Linked DNA regions of Homo sapiens: regions 1, 2 and 4 are each linked to region 3. Evidence: promoter capture Hi-C in human tissues and cell types (Jung and others, 2019). All regions are on one chromosome and are shown on one strand. The core of a region is centred on a gene start or on the middle of the fragment in contact, and the rest is flanking DNA. Distances in the headings are between cores, read along the strand shown. Region 1 holds the start of LOC105370542 (a long non-coding RNA gene). Region 2 has its middle 20 kb from the start of PLEKHH1. Region 3 holds the start of RDH12 (retinol dehydrogenase 12). Region 4 holds the start of TMEM229B (transmembrane protein 229B).

Region 1 (2,936 bases), core at 24-2,523, 230 kb before region 3:
TGGACAATAAGATTCCAGCCTGGGCCAGGCACAGTGGCTCACCCCTGTAATCTCAACATGTTGGGAGGCCAAGGCAGGTGGATCACCTGAGGTCAGGAGCTCAAGACTAGCCTGGCCAACATGGCAAAACCCCATCTCTATTAAAAATACAAAATAATTAGCCGAGCATGGTGGCACGGGCCTGTAATCCCAGCTACTCAGGAGGCTGAGGCAGGAGAATCACCTGAACCCGGGAGGTGGAGGTTGCAGTGAGCCGAGATCGCGCCACTGCACTCCAGCCTGGGCGACAGAGGGGGACCCAATCTCAAAAAAAAAAAAAAAAAAAAAAGACTCCAGCCTATCTCTGAAAGTATCAGTAATCAACCTATCAACCTTTGAGTGTGTGAAAAGTGTCTCTTCCTGGAAGAATCCTTACCCAACCCCGTAGACAGCCAGGGTCCTCTGTTAGAGCTTCTTTTCTGGAGGATTGGTCAACGTTGTAATGTTATGGGCTTCCCTTCAACATCTTCAGCATCACAGGAACTAGCCTGGTCCTTGGCTCACTGCAGGTATCTAATAAGGAGTTGATGAGTTAAACAGGTCAGTTCTCAGTCCTATCTGGGTTTTCAGAAGGCACCAGCAGAAGGTTCTTATCTTGTTAGGAGAAAGGTTTCAGCTGGTAGTTTCAAACACTCTGAAGGTACTGACAGCCAGGGGCCCAGGTTTCATGCCAAGACAAGGAAATAGGATGAAAGAGAAAAGGCCCAGGGCAAAAAGAAGGCTGTGGGTGGGAAGGAGGGAGGGAGGGGAGAGGGTATCAAGGCTAAACTCAGCATTGGTAGAGGCCACAATTTCACAGCTCTCCTCCACTAGGCGGGATCTTTGTGCCAATTGTCTTAAGTCTTGGCTAAGACAGCATTCTACACCTCCTTTCTTATAACTCCCTCTCTCTCCCTTCCATCCCATTCCCAAACATTTTAATTTAACTGCAAATAGCACCCACATGAGCTGGACTCAAAAGGCATCCAGAAACTCATCAAGTACAAAGGGGTATTGGACTCACCACAAATCCTGCCCCCGGTGGAAGGTCTCTGCTTATATTGAACAAAAGAGTGTTCTGCAGAGAAATGTGGTAAATCTGGGTGGCCGACTCTTTGCCAACAGACCTCTCCCATAAAACAGAAATAATGGTGGCCATCTGAAATGGGAAGAAATGAGAGCATGCATGCAGGGCCCAAAGTTCAGTGCCTGGCCGCAGTCACGGTACTGGCAGTCTTGAGGCTAGCCTGGGAACCACAACTGCTATTTCAATTTTTTTTTTTTTAAGGTGGAGTCTTGCTCTGTCACCCAGGCTAGAGTGCAATGGTGCGATCTCGGCTCACTGCAACCTCTGCCTCCTGGGTTCAAGCGATTGTCCTGCCTCAGCCTCCCGAGTAGCTGGGATTACAGGCATACGCTACCACACCCAGCTAATTTTTGGATTTTTAGTAGAGATGGGGTTTCACCATGTTGGCCACGCTGGTCTCTAACTCCTGACCTCAGGTGATCCACCCGCCTCGGGCTCCCAGAGTGCTGGGATCATAGGCTTGAGCCACCGCACCTGGCCAGTGTTTCAATTTGTAAGACCTGGCTCCTCTAACCTGCTGTATGAGGAATCAGTCACTCCTTTTTCCTCTGTTTCCCTCCCTTGGTTGTACCGGGGCAGTCTAAACATTGCAGCCTTCTGAGACAGGCACCCAGGAAGACCAGGCAAGACTACAGTCATGTACTCACTGTCAGTAAACATTAGGCTTTCACAAAGTCCAGGCAGACTTCAGAAGACGTGGATGAAGTCCTTAGTGTTAGCTCTCCTGGGGCATTTCTCTCCACCTAGTGTTGTTAGTGCCCTTTGGATTGGGTGAGGGAGGGGTGGAGGAGGTGAGGAAGGAAAGTGTCGAGAAAGGCAGGCGCCCACTGACTAGAGTAGGGAAGTAGCTGGCACTTTGGGAGGCCGAGGCGGGTGGATCACCTGAGGTCAGGGGTTCAAGACCAGCCTGGCCAACATGGCAAAACCCCGTCTCTACTAAAAAATACAAAAATTAGCCGGGCCTGGTGGCATGCACCTGTAATCCCAGCTACTTGGGAGGCTGAGGCAGGAAAATCACTTAAACCTGGGAGGCGGAGGTTGCAGTGAGCTGGGATTGCACCACTGCACTCCAGTCTGGGTAATAGAGTGAGATTCTGTCTCAAAAATAATAATAATAATTTTTTTTAAAAAAAAAAGGGTCTTGGGCCCCCTCAGTCTTCTCGCTCGGGGACCTGCCTCTTGCCTCTTCTCTGAAGCTCCATAAAGGAGACCCTGTTTCATTTTGCTTGCCTCTTTCTATAAAATCTTGTTCTGAGAGAACTACCTTGTATATTTGTTTATGCTAACATGTAAATGACTGCTGGGGATTTATGCTATCTCATTTTCATAAGGGAAAAAGCTTTCAGCCAAAGAAATGAAAACCTTCAAGTGAGGGAGGCAGAGGGCCCTCCCGATGATTTAGAAAGCACACTGTCTACTCCATCCAGAAAAGCAGTGGGTGTTCTATAACCCAGCTGTGACAGGGGGCCCATGCCATTTGCGTTTAGCTGAAATTACTGAGCAACTTCAAGACAGGGTCTCACTGTCACCCAGAATACAGTGGTGCAATCATAGCTCACTGCAACCTCCAAATCCTGGGCTCACGTGATCCTCCTGATTCAGGCTCCTGAGTATCTGGAATTATAAGTGTGTGCCACCATGCCTGGCTTTTTTTTTTTTTTTTTTTTTTTTTGTAGAGATGGTGGTCTCTGTATGTTGCCCAGGCTGGTCTCAAACTCCTGGGCTCAAGTAATCCTCCTGCTTCAGCCTCTCAAAGTGCTGGGTTTACAGGTGTGAGCCACCATGCCCAGCCTGACTGAGCAACTTCTGAACCCTCCATCCTCTTCCTGGA
Region 2 (2,820 bases), core at 283-2,782, 190 kb before region 3:
AATCACAGCAGCATGGGGCATCCCACAGCTCAAAGTCTGAGGCAAATATACGTCTTGAACCAAACACCCTGGTACTGATGTAAATTCTGGTACGTAAATTCTGAGTGCATCTTTATCTTATAGCAGAAAAGTATAACCTATGGATCTACTCGGGTACTTGATTTTAAATGCTCTTAAATCCCAGGAAAGGAAAATTTCCCCAACACATGCATTCTCACACACCACAGCCAGTGTGACAACTCTCAGTGGGACTCAGTTTCCCTAAGGGGAACCAAACCAAAAGTGCCCCCCTCCTACCCCTTCCCTAGAAATCAGCTTACACTTTACTTTTCAAATACAAAGCCTGATTTCTGAGAAGTGATGTAGAGTAAGAAGAAGATCTGGCCAATAGAGGCTGAAATTCCTCAGCTCAGAACATGAGAATCCTGTCTGATATTCCCTCCTTAGCCAGGTGTTGCCACAAAGGGAGCTAAGGCTTTGCCAGGTCAGAAATTATCCTTGCCTTAAAAGGAATGTTCCTGCAATTCAAAAATACACCCAGACCACCTTGTCTGTATATGGGAGGTAGGGAGATGGGGGAGGAGAAAAGTAAAAGCATACAAACTTGAAAACAGCCAGGCTCTGGGAGGGTTAGCTATCCCTTCCCTCCCCTCAAGGACAGCCAGATCTGATACAGTTGCCGATAAGACCAAGCTGCCTCACTCTACTGCCCTTACCCAGGTCTTTCCTTATGACATCAGAGTCCCCAACATCATCGGAGACCCTCCTCAGAAACTGGAAGGTGACAGTCACTAACATTCTAGCTGGAAACTGTACACCAGGAAAAAGCCCACCAGGAAGGAGCTCCAAGCCATCCTGGGAGGTAAGCAGAAAAAAAAGCTTGCTGCCTAAGTGCTGCAGCGAGAGCTTTTCTGATAAAAACTACACTTTTAAAACCAACACTGAGCTTTGCCTATCACAAAAGCTGTAATTTGGTCCCTTCCTGTAAAATGACACCTTTCCCTTTAGAAACAATATGTAAATCTGATACAACCGAAATAAACACAGTATAAGGCTCACTAACTCATTTAATATCTTTCATTCAAGGACTTGAGGGTCTTAAATCACTTTATAAATGTAAAAATTCATGCCTCATCACTTCAAAACAGGAAGTTAGGAGAGTATCAATTTCCCATCTTAAGGTCAGTACATTTGAGGAACATGCCACGGAAAAGCCCATCCTCTAACCACTGGAGGCTCGGAGGTCAGGCCTCCATATCATTATCCTCAGCTCCGAATAAATAGCTTGGGACAAACCAATAAAGCCGCTCCAGTGGGGAATTGAGTGAAATCAATCCTGCCTGCCTGTTAGAATGGGAAGGTCCATAGAAGTGGGCCTAGCTGTGCTTCTCTGGTGCAGTACCTGCATCTGACTTTAGCCACAAATTGCAGGGCCACAAATCTATAGCTCAGGGGACTCAGTTTTCTCCTGCTACTCCTTATTGGTCCTGGAACCTCCGTTGCTCCTGTACCTATAAGTGGCCAAAATCAACACTAAAAAAGCCTGTTGTCCCCACCCAACGCCTGCCATGCTGTGTCCCCAGTTGCCTGTATCTGTCTCCAAACACAAAGCCCCTGATGGGGGCTAAGTGTCATCTCAGCACACCCCTGAGCAAAGTGTCTCTAGAGCAAAGTGTCCTGACAGGCCCACCCTGGCCCAACCTACTTGTATCCTTGTATCATTAGGTCATTCACACAGGCAGGCGGGAGAGTCCTCCACCAGTCTAGGGCCCTCCAGTGCCTTCTGTCTCACAGGGAAGCAGATGTATCTGTCTTCCAAACAGGGAAAAAAATCTGAGCTCCCAAAGGGCTATCCTGCCACAGGATAGGAGCTGGTGGTCACATGTAAGCCAGCTCAGAACTGAAGGCACCTTGTTCCTGGAGACATAAGGCCAAGCACTGGGGACCTGGAACCTGGCCCATTTGTTTTCTAGAGAGAAAGACACTGTACCACCCCCAAGGCAGGTTGCTTGGCCCTCCCTTGATCCCTCTTCCTGGTACAGCAGAGAGAAACCCAGGCCTCTCAATTACCCAAGGCTGATAGCCACAGCAATAGCTCACTTATTACTAGGGTGCTGAGAACACATGAGAATTGGTGAGCAGAGCCCCCAAGGTTACACCAGCAGAAAGCTGCCTGGGGTCCTGCTCTTTCCCTCCAGGGAGAGCCTTGAGCAGTGCCCGAACACTCTGCCCTCCTATCTCCAAGCTCTGTACCTAAGGCAGCCAAACACCCCCAGGGAAACCCTGGGGAAAGAAAAGAGACAGTCCCCGGGAAGGAAGGGAAAGGGGTCCGTTTCTGACTGAGCATAGAAAGAGGGAAAGGAAGATACCTGGGAAAGAGGCCAATGTCTCCCTGCCCTTGCCAGGAACCGGGCTGTAACACTCCCCATCCCAGCCAGGCATCTCTCACGGAGGACCAGAGATCAGGGAGGGCAGGTGAAGAGCTGGCAGCCAGGGGGCTGGGCTGGGCCCCAGGACACGGACCTGGGGAGTGGAGGGCGCCTAGGTGTGGGGTCCATCACCCAGTTTTTCCATGCACCCTGGGGAGAAGGCGGCGGGGTCATTTTGGCAGCGTTCCCTTCCCTTCTGGAAAGTCCTCAGCCTCTAATTCAGGAGGGTCCTTGGTTTCCACTCCCAAGCCCTGGCTCCCCAGCTTCCACCCAGACTGTCACCCCCCTCCACCCTGCTGAGGTGGCCTCCTGGGTGCTCTCCGCCCGGAAGAAGAGGAGGTGTCAACCTACCGCTGCCCCTCGCTTCCCCCTGACACCCCTTTGTTTCAGG
Region 3 (2,798 bases), core at 9-2,508:
TGGCGTGAACCTGGGAGGCGGAGCTTGCAGTGAGCCTAGATCGCGGCACTGCACTCCAGCCTGGGTGACACAGCAAGACTCCATCTCAAAAAAAAAAAAAAAAATTACAGAAGTTGGCTGGGCATGGTGACTCATGCCTGCAATCCCAGCACTTCGGGAGGCCGAGGCGGGTGGATCAGCTGAGGTCAGGAGTTTAAGACCAGGCTGGCTAGAATGATGAAACTCTGTCTCTACTAAAAATACAAAAATTAGCTGGGCACGGCGGCGAATGCCTCTAATCCCAGCTACTCGGAGGCTGAGGCAGGAGAATCACTTGAACCTGGGAGGCGGAGGTTGCAGTAAGCGGAGATCTTGCCACTGCACTCCAGCCTGGGTGACAAGAGCAAAATTTCATCTCAAAAAAAAAAAAAAAAAAAAAAGTCAAAGATTACAGAAGTTGACAAAAAGGTTGAAGGAGAGGATTATCATTTCAACCAAGAAAAACATGTATCTTTTTAAGGGTATAAAGAACGAACAACAACGATTCATGACTTGGGAATCATGTGCAGCGAGGTATAGCACAAGTAGAATTTTTTGAGATATAAATTTGAGAAGTTTTAGAAAAGAAATAGATTGTAGAATTTAAAATCAAAAGCTCTTGTAATTCACTAAGAGCAAATTTATACTTTAAGACAATGTTATTTTAACATAGAGGACCAAAATCTCAATCTTTAGAAACACTTATAACTTTTTTTTGATTATAGCCAACTTAATCACATATACATTTAAAAAAATTTTAAAGAACTTTATTATAATTTCTTTTTTTTTTTTTTTTTTTTTTGAGATGGAGTCTGTTGCCCAGGCTGGAGTACAGTGTCACTATCTTGGCTCACTGCAAACTCCGCATTCCAGGTTCAAGTGATTCTCCCGCCTCAGCCTCCCGAGTAGCTGGGACTACAGGCATGCGCCACCATACCTGGCTACTTTTTGTATTTTTAGTAGAGATGAGGTTTCACCATTTTGGCTGTGCTGGTCTCGAACTCCTGACCTTGTGATCCGCCCACTTCAGCCTCCCAAAGTGCTGGGATTACAGGCATGAGTCACCACGCCAGGCCTATTATGATTTCTGTAGACTATTTATGACATGTTTGAACTTTTGTTTTGCCCTACCCTTTCTCTTTTATAATTAACCTGTCATTTTGCTTTAGGAAAATAATTTACCATGTAATAAATTATTATCATGCAGTGGCATGATCAGCTCATCGTAACCTCAACTCCTGGGCACAAGCAATCCTCCCTTCTCAGCTTCCTGAGTGGCCAGGACTACAGGTAAGTGCCACCATGCCAGACTAATTTTCAAAATTTTTGTAGAGACAGTATCTCACTGTGTTGTAGAGACAGTGTCTCACTATGTTGCTTAGGCTTGTCTTGAACTCCTGATCTCAAATGATCCACCTGCCTTGGCCTCCTAAAGCATTAGGATAACAGTCATGAACCACTGTGCCCAGCTTTTTTAAAAATTTAATATATATATATTTTTTAAATGGAGATGAGATCTCATTATGTTGCCCAGGCTGGTCTCAAACTCCTGAGCTCAAGTGATTCTCCCACCTTAGGGTCCCAAAGTGCTAGGATTACACACATGAGCCACCATGCCTGGCCTGTGCTCAGTTTTTTAAGTTTTTTTCTATTAACCATTTTTATAGCCTGTGAATGTCAGATATTTACCTAAGCAAGAAATTTAAAGTTAAATACATGGGTATTTTGTTGATAACTCAGAAGGTTTAGCTGTATTTCTTAAACCAACAATATTAAATTAGTCTTACTTATAAAAAAAATCACACAAAGATTATTTTGGTTTTGGCTGGGTTCATAGTTTTTTACCTTTGTGCCAAATCCTGACCCTGTAAAATATTTAATAAGACAAGTATAAATCTGACCATAAATCTAGGCAAATATGTATGTTGACAATTTTGAAGACATTTTAATATTTATTTTACTAATAATTTTAAAGCCAGTTTATTTATTAAAGAATTACTTAAGTCATGTGAACTTGGAAAACCTTTGGGCTTACTAATTTATGAGTGCTCATTTATCTATAAGTCAATTGGGTATCATGTAGATACAACATATAACATATTACATGTATATATGTAAACACATCTAAACACACATATATATGCACAAATAGAGATCTTATACCTTTATTTTTTGATTTGTCTTTTGAAACAGGGCCTCACTCTGTTGCCCAGGGTAGAGAGCAGTGGTATGACCATGGCTCACTGCAGCCTGGACCTCCCAGGCTCAAGTGATTCTCCCACCTCAGCCTCCTGAGTACCTGGGACTACAGGTGCGTGCCGCCATGCCCAGCTAACTTAAAAAAGTTTTTTTTTTGTAGAGTCAGAGTCTCACTATGTTGCCAGGGCTGGTCTTGAGCTCCTGGGCGCAAATGATCCTCCTACCTTGGCCTCCCAAAGTGCTGGGACTGCTGGCATGAGTCACCTCATCTGGCCCTTATAGTTTTCATTTTAGAATTTTAGTCATGAGATAGTAATACAAACTCACCAGTTTATAAAAGATAGTTGGATCTAAATTATTTTTGGAAAAAATTGGGACCTGTTAGTTCACATGGCTAAATTTTATTTGTCCCAATAGGTAATCTAATGAAGGCTGTGAGCCAAAATTTTTGGGTAAGGTAGTTCGATGGCAGTTTTATTTTAAAAATCTTTTATCCTTTTATTCAGTTTCAAATGAGTTTAGAGTTAGGTTTTTAATGTTAACATTTTAGCTTGAACTGGCTGAATCGTATAAGAAAAACA
Region 4 (2,790 bases), core at 157-2,656, 210 kb before region 3:
AGTCCAGTCCCAGGTGATGCATGGTCCTCACTGCACAGATCTGAAGCCTGACGGCCAAAGTAGATGCTGTTTCCCAGGTGTGAGTGCTCGCTTCACTCACGCCAGACAATCTGAATGATATGGTTTGGCTGTGTCCTCACCCAAATCTCATCTTGAATTTCCACCATGTTGTGGGAGGAACTGGGTGGGAGGTAATTGAATCATGGGGCCAGGTCTTTCTCATGCTGTTCTTGTGATAGTGAATAAATCTCATGAGATCTGATGGGTTTTTGTTTTGTTTTGTTTTGAGACAGAGTCTTGCTCTGTTGCCAGGCTGGGGTGCAATGGCACGATCTTGGCTCACTGCAACCTCTGCCTCCCAGGTTCAAGCGATTCTCCTGCCTCAGCCTCCTGAATAGCTGGGACCACAGGTGCATGCCACAATGCCCAGCTAATTTTTGTATTTTTAGTACAGATGGGGTTTCACCATGTTGGCCAGGATGGTCTCAATCTGTTGACCTTGCGATCCACCCACCTCGGCCTCCCAAAGTGCTGGGATTACAGGCGTGAGCCACAGTGCCCGGCTGATCTGATGGTTTTATAAGGGAGAGTTTCCCTGCACAAGCTCTCTTTCTGCTTGCTACCAACCTTGTAATATGTGACTTGCTTCCCCTTGCCTTCCACCATGATTGTGAGGCTTCCCCAGACACGTGGAATTAACCCTCTTTTTCTGTATACATTTTCCACTCTTACGTATGTCTTTATCAGCAGCACGAAAACAAACTAATACACTGGGTCTGGCCTGGATTTTAGAGGCCATGTGGCCATAAGACGGCTCCCGCATGTGATGGCCCAATATTGCTTGACATTCCCCTCCCATTGCCCTGTGACAGGACCTTGGATGGGGAACAGACTCAGAACTAGAACCTCCAGACTCGTGCCCATGCTGATGAGGTGCCGAGCAGGCAGGATCGCTGGGCTGGTGATCCCCTGGGTGCTTGTAACATACTCACTTATCACACCCTTGAGTGTGCAGCTCACAACAGACATCAGGATCACTGTCCAGGAGTGTCCTGGGTTAACCTTTGTTGGCTGGGCCTCAGTGCCATTCTCAGCAACGTAGGCAAGCATCAGCCCTAGGGCTCAGCTGATCCTTGGCTGGGGGGCTGGCAGCTTCCATGTGTCCCTGGGAATAAAAGAGGAGGCTTTTATTAGCTTAAACTGCCCCCAGCAGATCCAAGAAAAACATTGCAAGGGCCTGGGCTCTGGGCTCAGCACCAGACACTCATCCCACCCTGGCCACCAGGGCCCCTTCCCGGAACCTACCCCCTCCTCTTTGCATCCAGTTTGCTCAGGTCTGATTAATCCAGCCACAAAAGTCTGGGATGGTCCTGGACAATCCACATGTCCAGGGTTAGGACTTAGGGCTTCTTGCCTAAATGTGTGAACACTTGTGAATCTGAGAGGGGATATAATTTTAGAATCCAGCTCCATTCTCATTCAGCTTCAAATTACATTCTCACCTTCACCCTGTAGTGGGTACATCTGTTCTCAAGGGCGGTCAGAACCTCATGGAAGGCAGACAATGTAGGACATTCGTTTCAGCACTTTGAAAGCAGAGAACAACCACTCGTGCAGAAAAACAAAATGTGTGCTAAACCTTTCTACGTACTATTCTACCTCTCTAATATTTATTCATCTCATTTTATTATTTCACCATTATTATGGTTGAGGCCCTTCCTATGAACATCAGTAACCAGCTACAAGCTAATACAAATCTTACTTTATAATGCCCTTTGCCATGTACTTTAAAAAAAAAAATCAAGTAGAGACGGGTCTTGCTATGTTGACCAGGCTGGTCTCAAGCTCTTGGCCAACCCTCCCACCTCAGCCTCCCAAAGTGCTAGGATTATAGGCGTGAGCCACTGTGCCTGGCCAGCCATGTACAGCCATGTTTTTACTACTATCCCTAAGACTTGACTATTTAATGGAGATTCCAACATTTTTTGTTTTAATATGAAAGTGCTAAAGCTTCCCTGAAAACCCCCTGGATACAACACCATCTGCATATGCCCAAGGACAGCACTCAGGCCCAGCATGGCCCTCTGGGACAGCCCAGCCACTCAGAAGCTGAGAACAGTATGTGGCTGGGGGTGGGAGCTGGCACTCCCCTGTGGATGACCAGGCAGGATGGACCAGAGGTGCTGGTCTGTGCTGATGCCCATGTCCACCTTCCCCACTCCCCTCTGACCACCAGGGTCTCTGAGTAGAGGCCGCTTGGGCCCTTGCTCAAGCTGACAACCTGTGAGGCAGCCAGGCAGCCGAGGAGAAGTGAAAGGGCAGGAGTGGGGGAACTGAAACTCACTGTATGGTGTGGTTTTGGGGGGTGCCCCCCTGGGTCTCCCCCCGGGGCCTCTGCACTGAGAGCATCACAGTGGGCTGCTGTGCTCAGCCTTGCCTCCCCCTCCCCAGCTCCTTCACAAACGGGACCCTCCAACCCTCCCTGATCTGTCCATCTTACCGGCTTCTTCCAGCCTGCCGGATGGCGGACAGGGGTCACCTTGACACGTACCTATCACCTTGAGGAAAAGGTTTTAACGGAGCATGTCCGAACCCTCTGGGACTCTCTCTCCACCAGCACCACAAGGACCATGTGCCTGGGGAGTTCAATCCCACCTGTGGAGACTTCTCCCCACCCTAGGCCCTCAGCCACATCCACGGCACAAGTCAGAACTAAAACAGAAACAGAAACCAAAGACCACATCCTGCCGGCACAGCCTGCGGGTTACTGCAGCCAGCTCTGGGAGCCCA

The links. The method cuts DNA at HindIII sites, captures the fragments that hold promoters and counts their contacts. A contact is called where the count stands out against the background at its distance.
Region 1: a contact is called between a fragment that was not itself captured here and the fragment with the promoter of RDH12 in region 3, in 1 of the 25 tissues and cell types used here (hippocampus).
Region 2: a contact is called between a fragment that was not itself captured here and the fragment with the promoter of RDH12 in region 3, in 2 of the 25 tissues and cell types used here (dorsolateral prefrontal cortex and hippocampus).
Region 4: a contact is called between a fragment that was not itself captured here and the fragment with the promoter of RDH12 in region 3, in 1 of the 25 tissues and cell types used here (lymphoblastoid cells).

Annotation. Positions count from the first base shown.
Region 1 is chr14:67,466,689-67,469,624 of GRCh38, forward strand. It overlaps LOC105370542 (a long non-coding RNA gene), which reads right to left and starts at 2,028. Exons shown (of 3, transcript XR_007064213.1): 1 at 1,753-2,028; 2 at 1-1,177. It also overlaps a transcript of GPHN not described here. The HindIII fragment of the contact is 4,920 bases long and covers 1-2,936 here.
Region 2 is chr14:67,511,962-67,514,781 of GRCh38, forward strand. It overlaps a transcript of GPHN not described here and a transcript of TMEM229B not described here. Among named protein-coding and RNA genes, the nearest start is that of PLEKHH1, 20 kb to the right of the region's middle. The HindIII fragment of the contact is 8,257 bases long and covers 1-2,820 here.
Region 3 is chr14:67,700,628-67,703,425 of GRCh38, forward strand. It overlaps RDH12 (retinol dehydrogenase 12), which reads left to right and starts at 1,259. Exons shown (of 9, transcript NM_152443.3): 1 at 1,259-1,308. It also overlaps a transcript of GPHN not described here. The HindIII fragment of the contact is 5,475 bases long and covers 1-2,798 here.
Region 4 is chr14:67,486,008-67,488,797 of GRCh38, forward strand. TMEM229B (transmembrane protein 229B) reads right to left here and starts at 2,714. Exons shown (of 3, transcript NM_001348543.2): 1 at 2,501-2,714; 2 at 993-1,165. It also overlaps a transcript of GPHN not described here. RefSeq lists enhancers at 2,056-2,125, 2,289-2,788, 2,426-2,790. The HindIII fragment of the contact is 6,771 bases long and covers 1-2,790 here.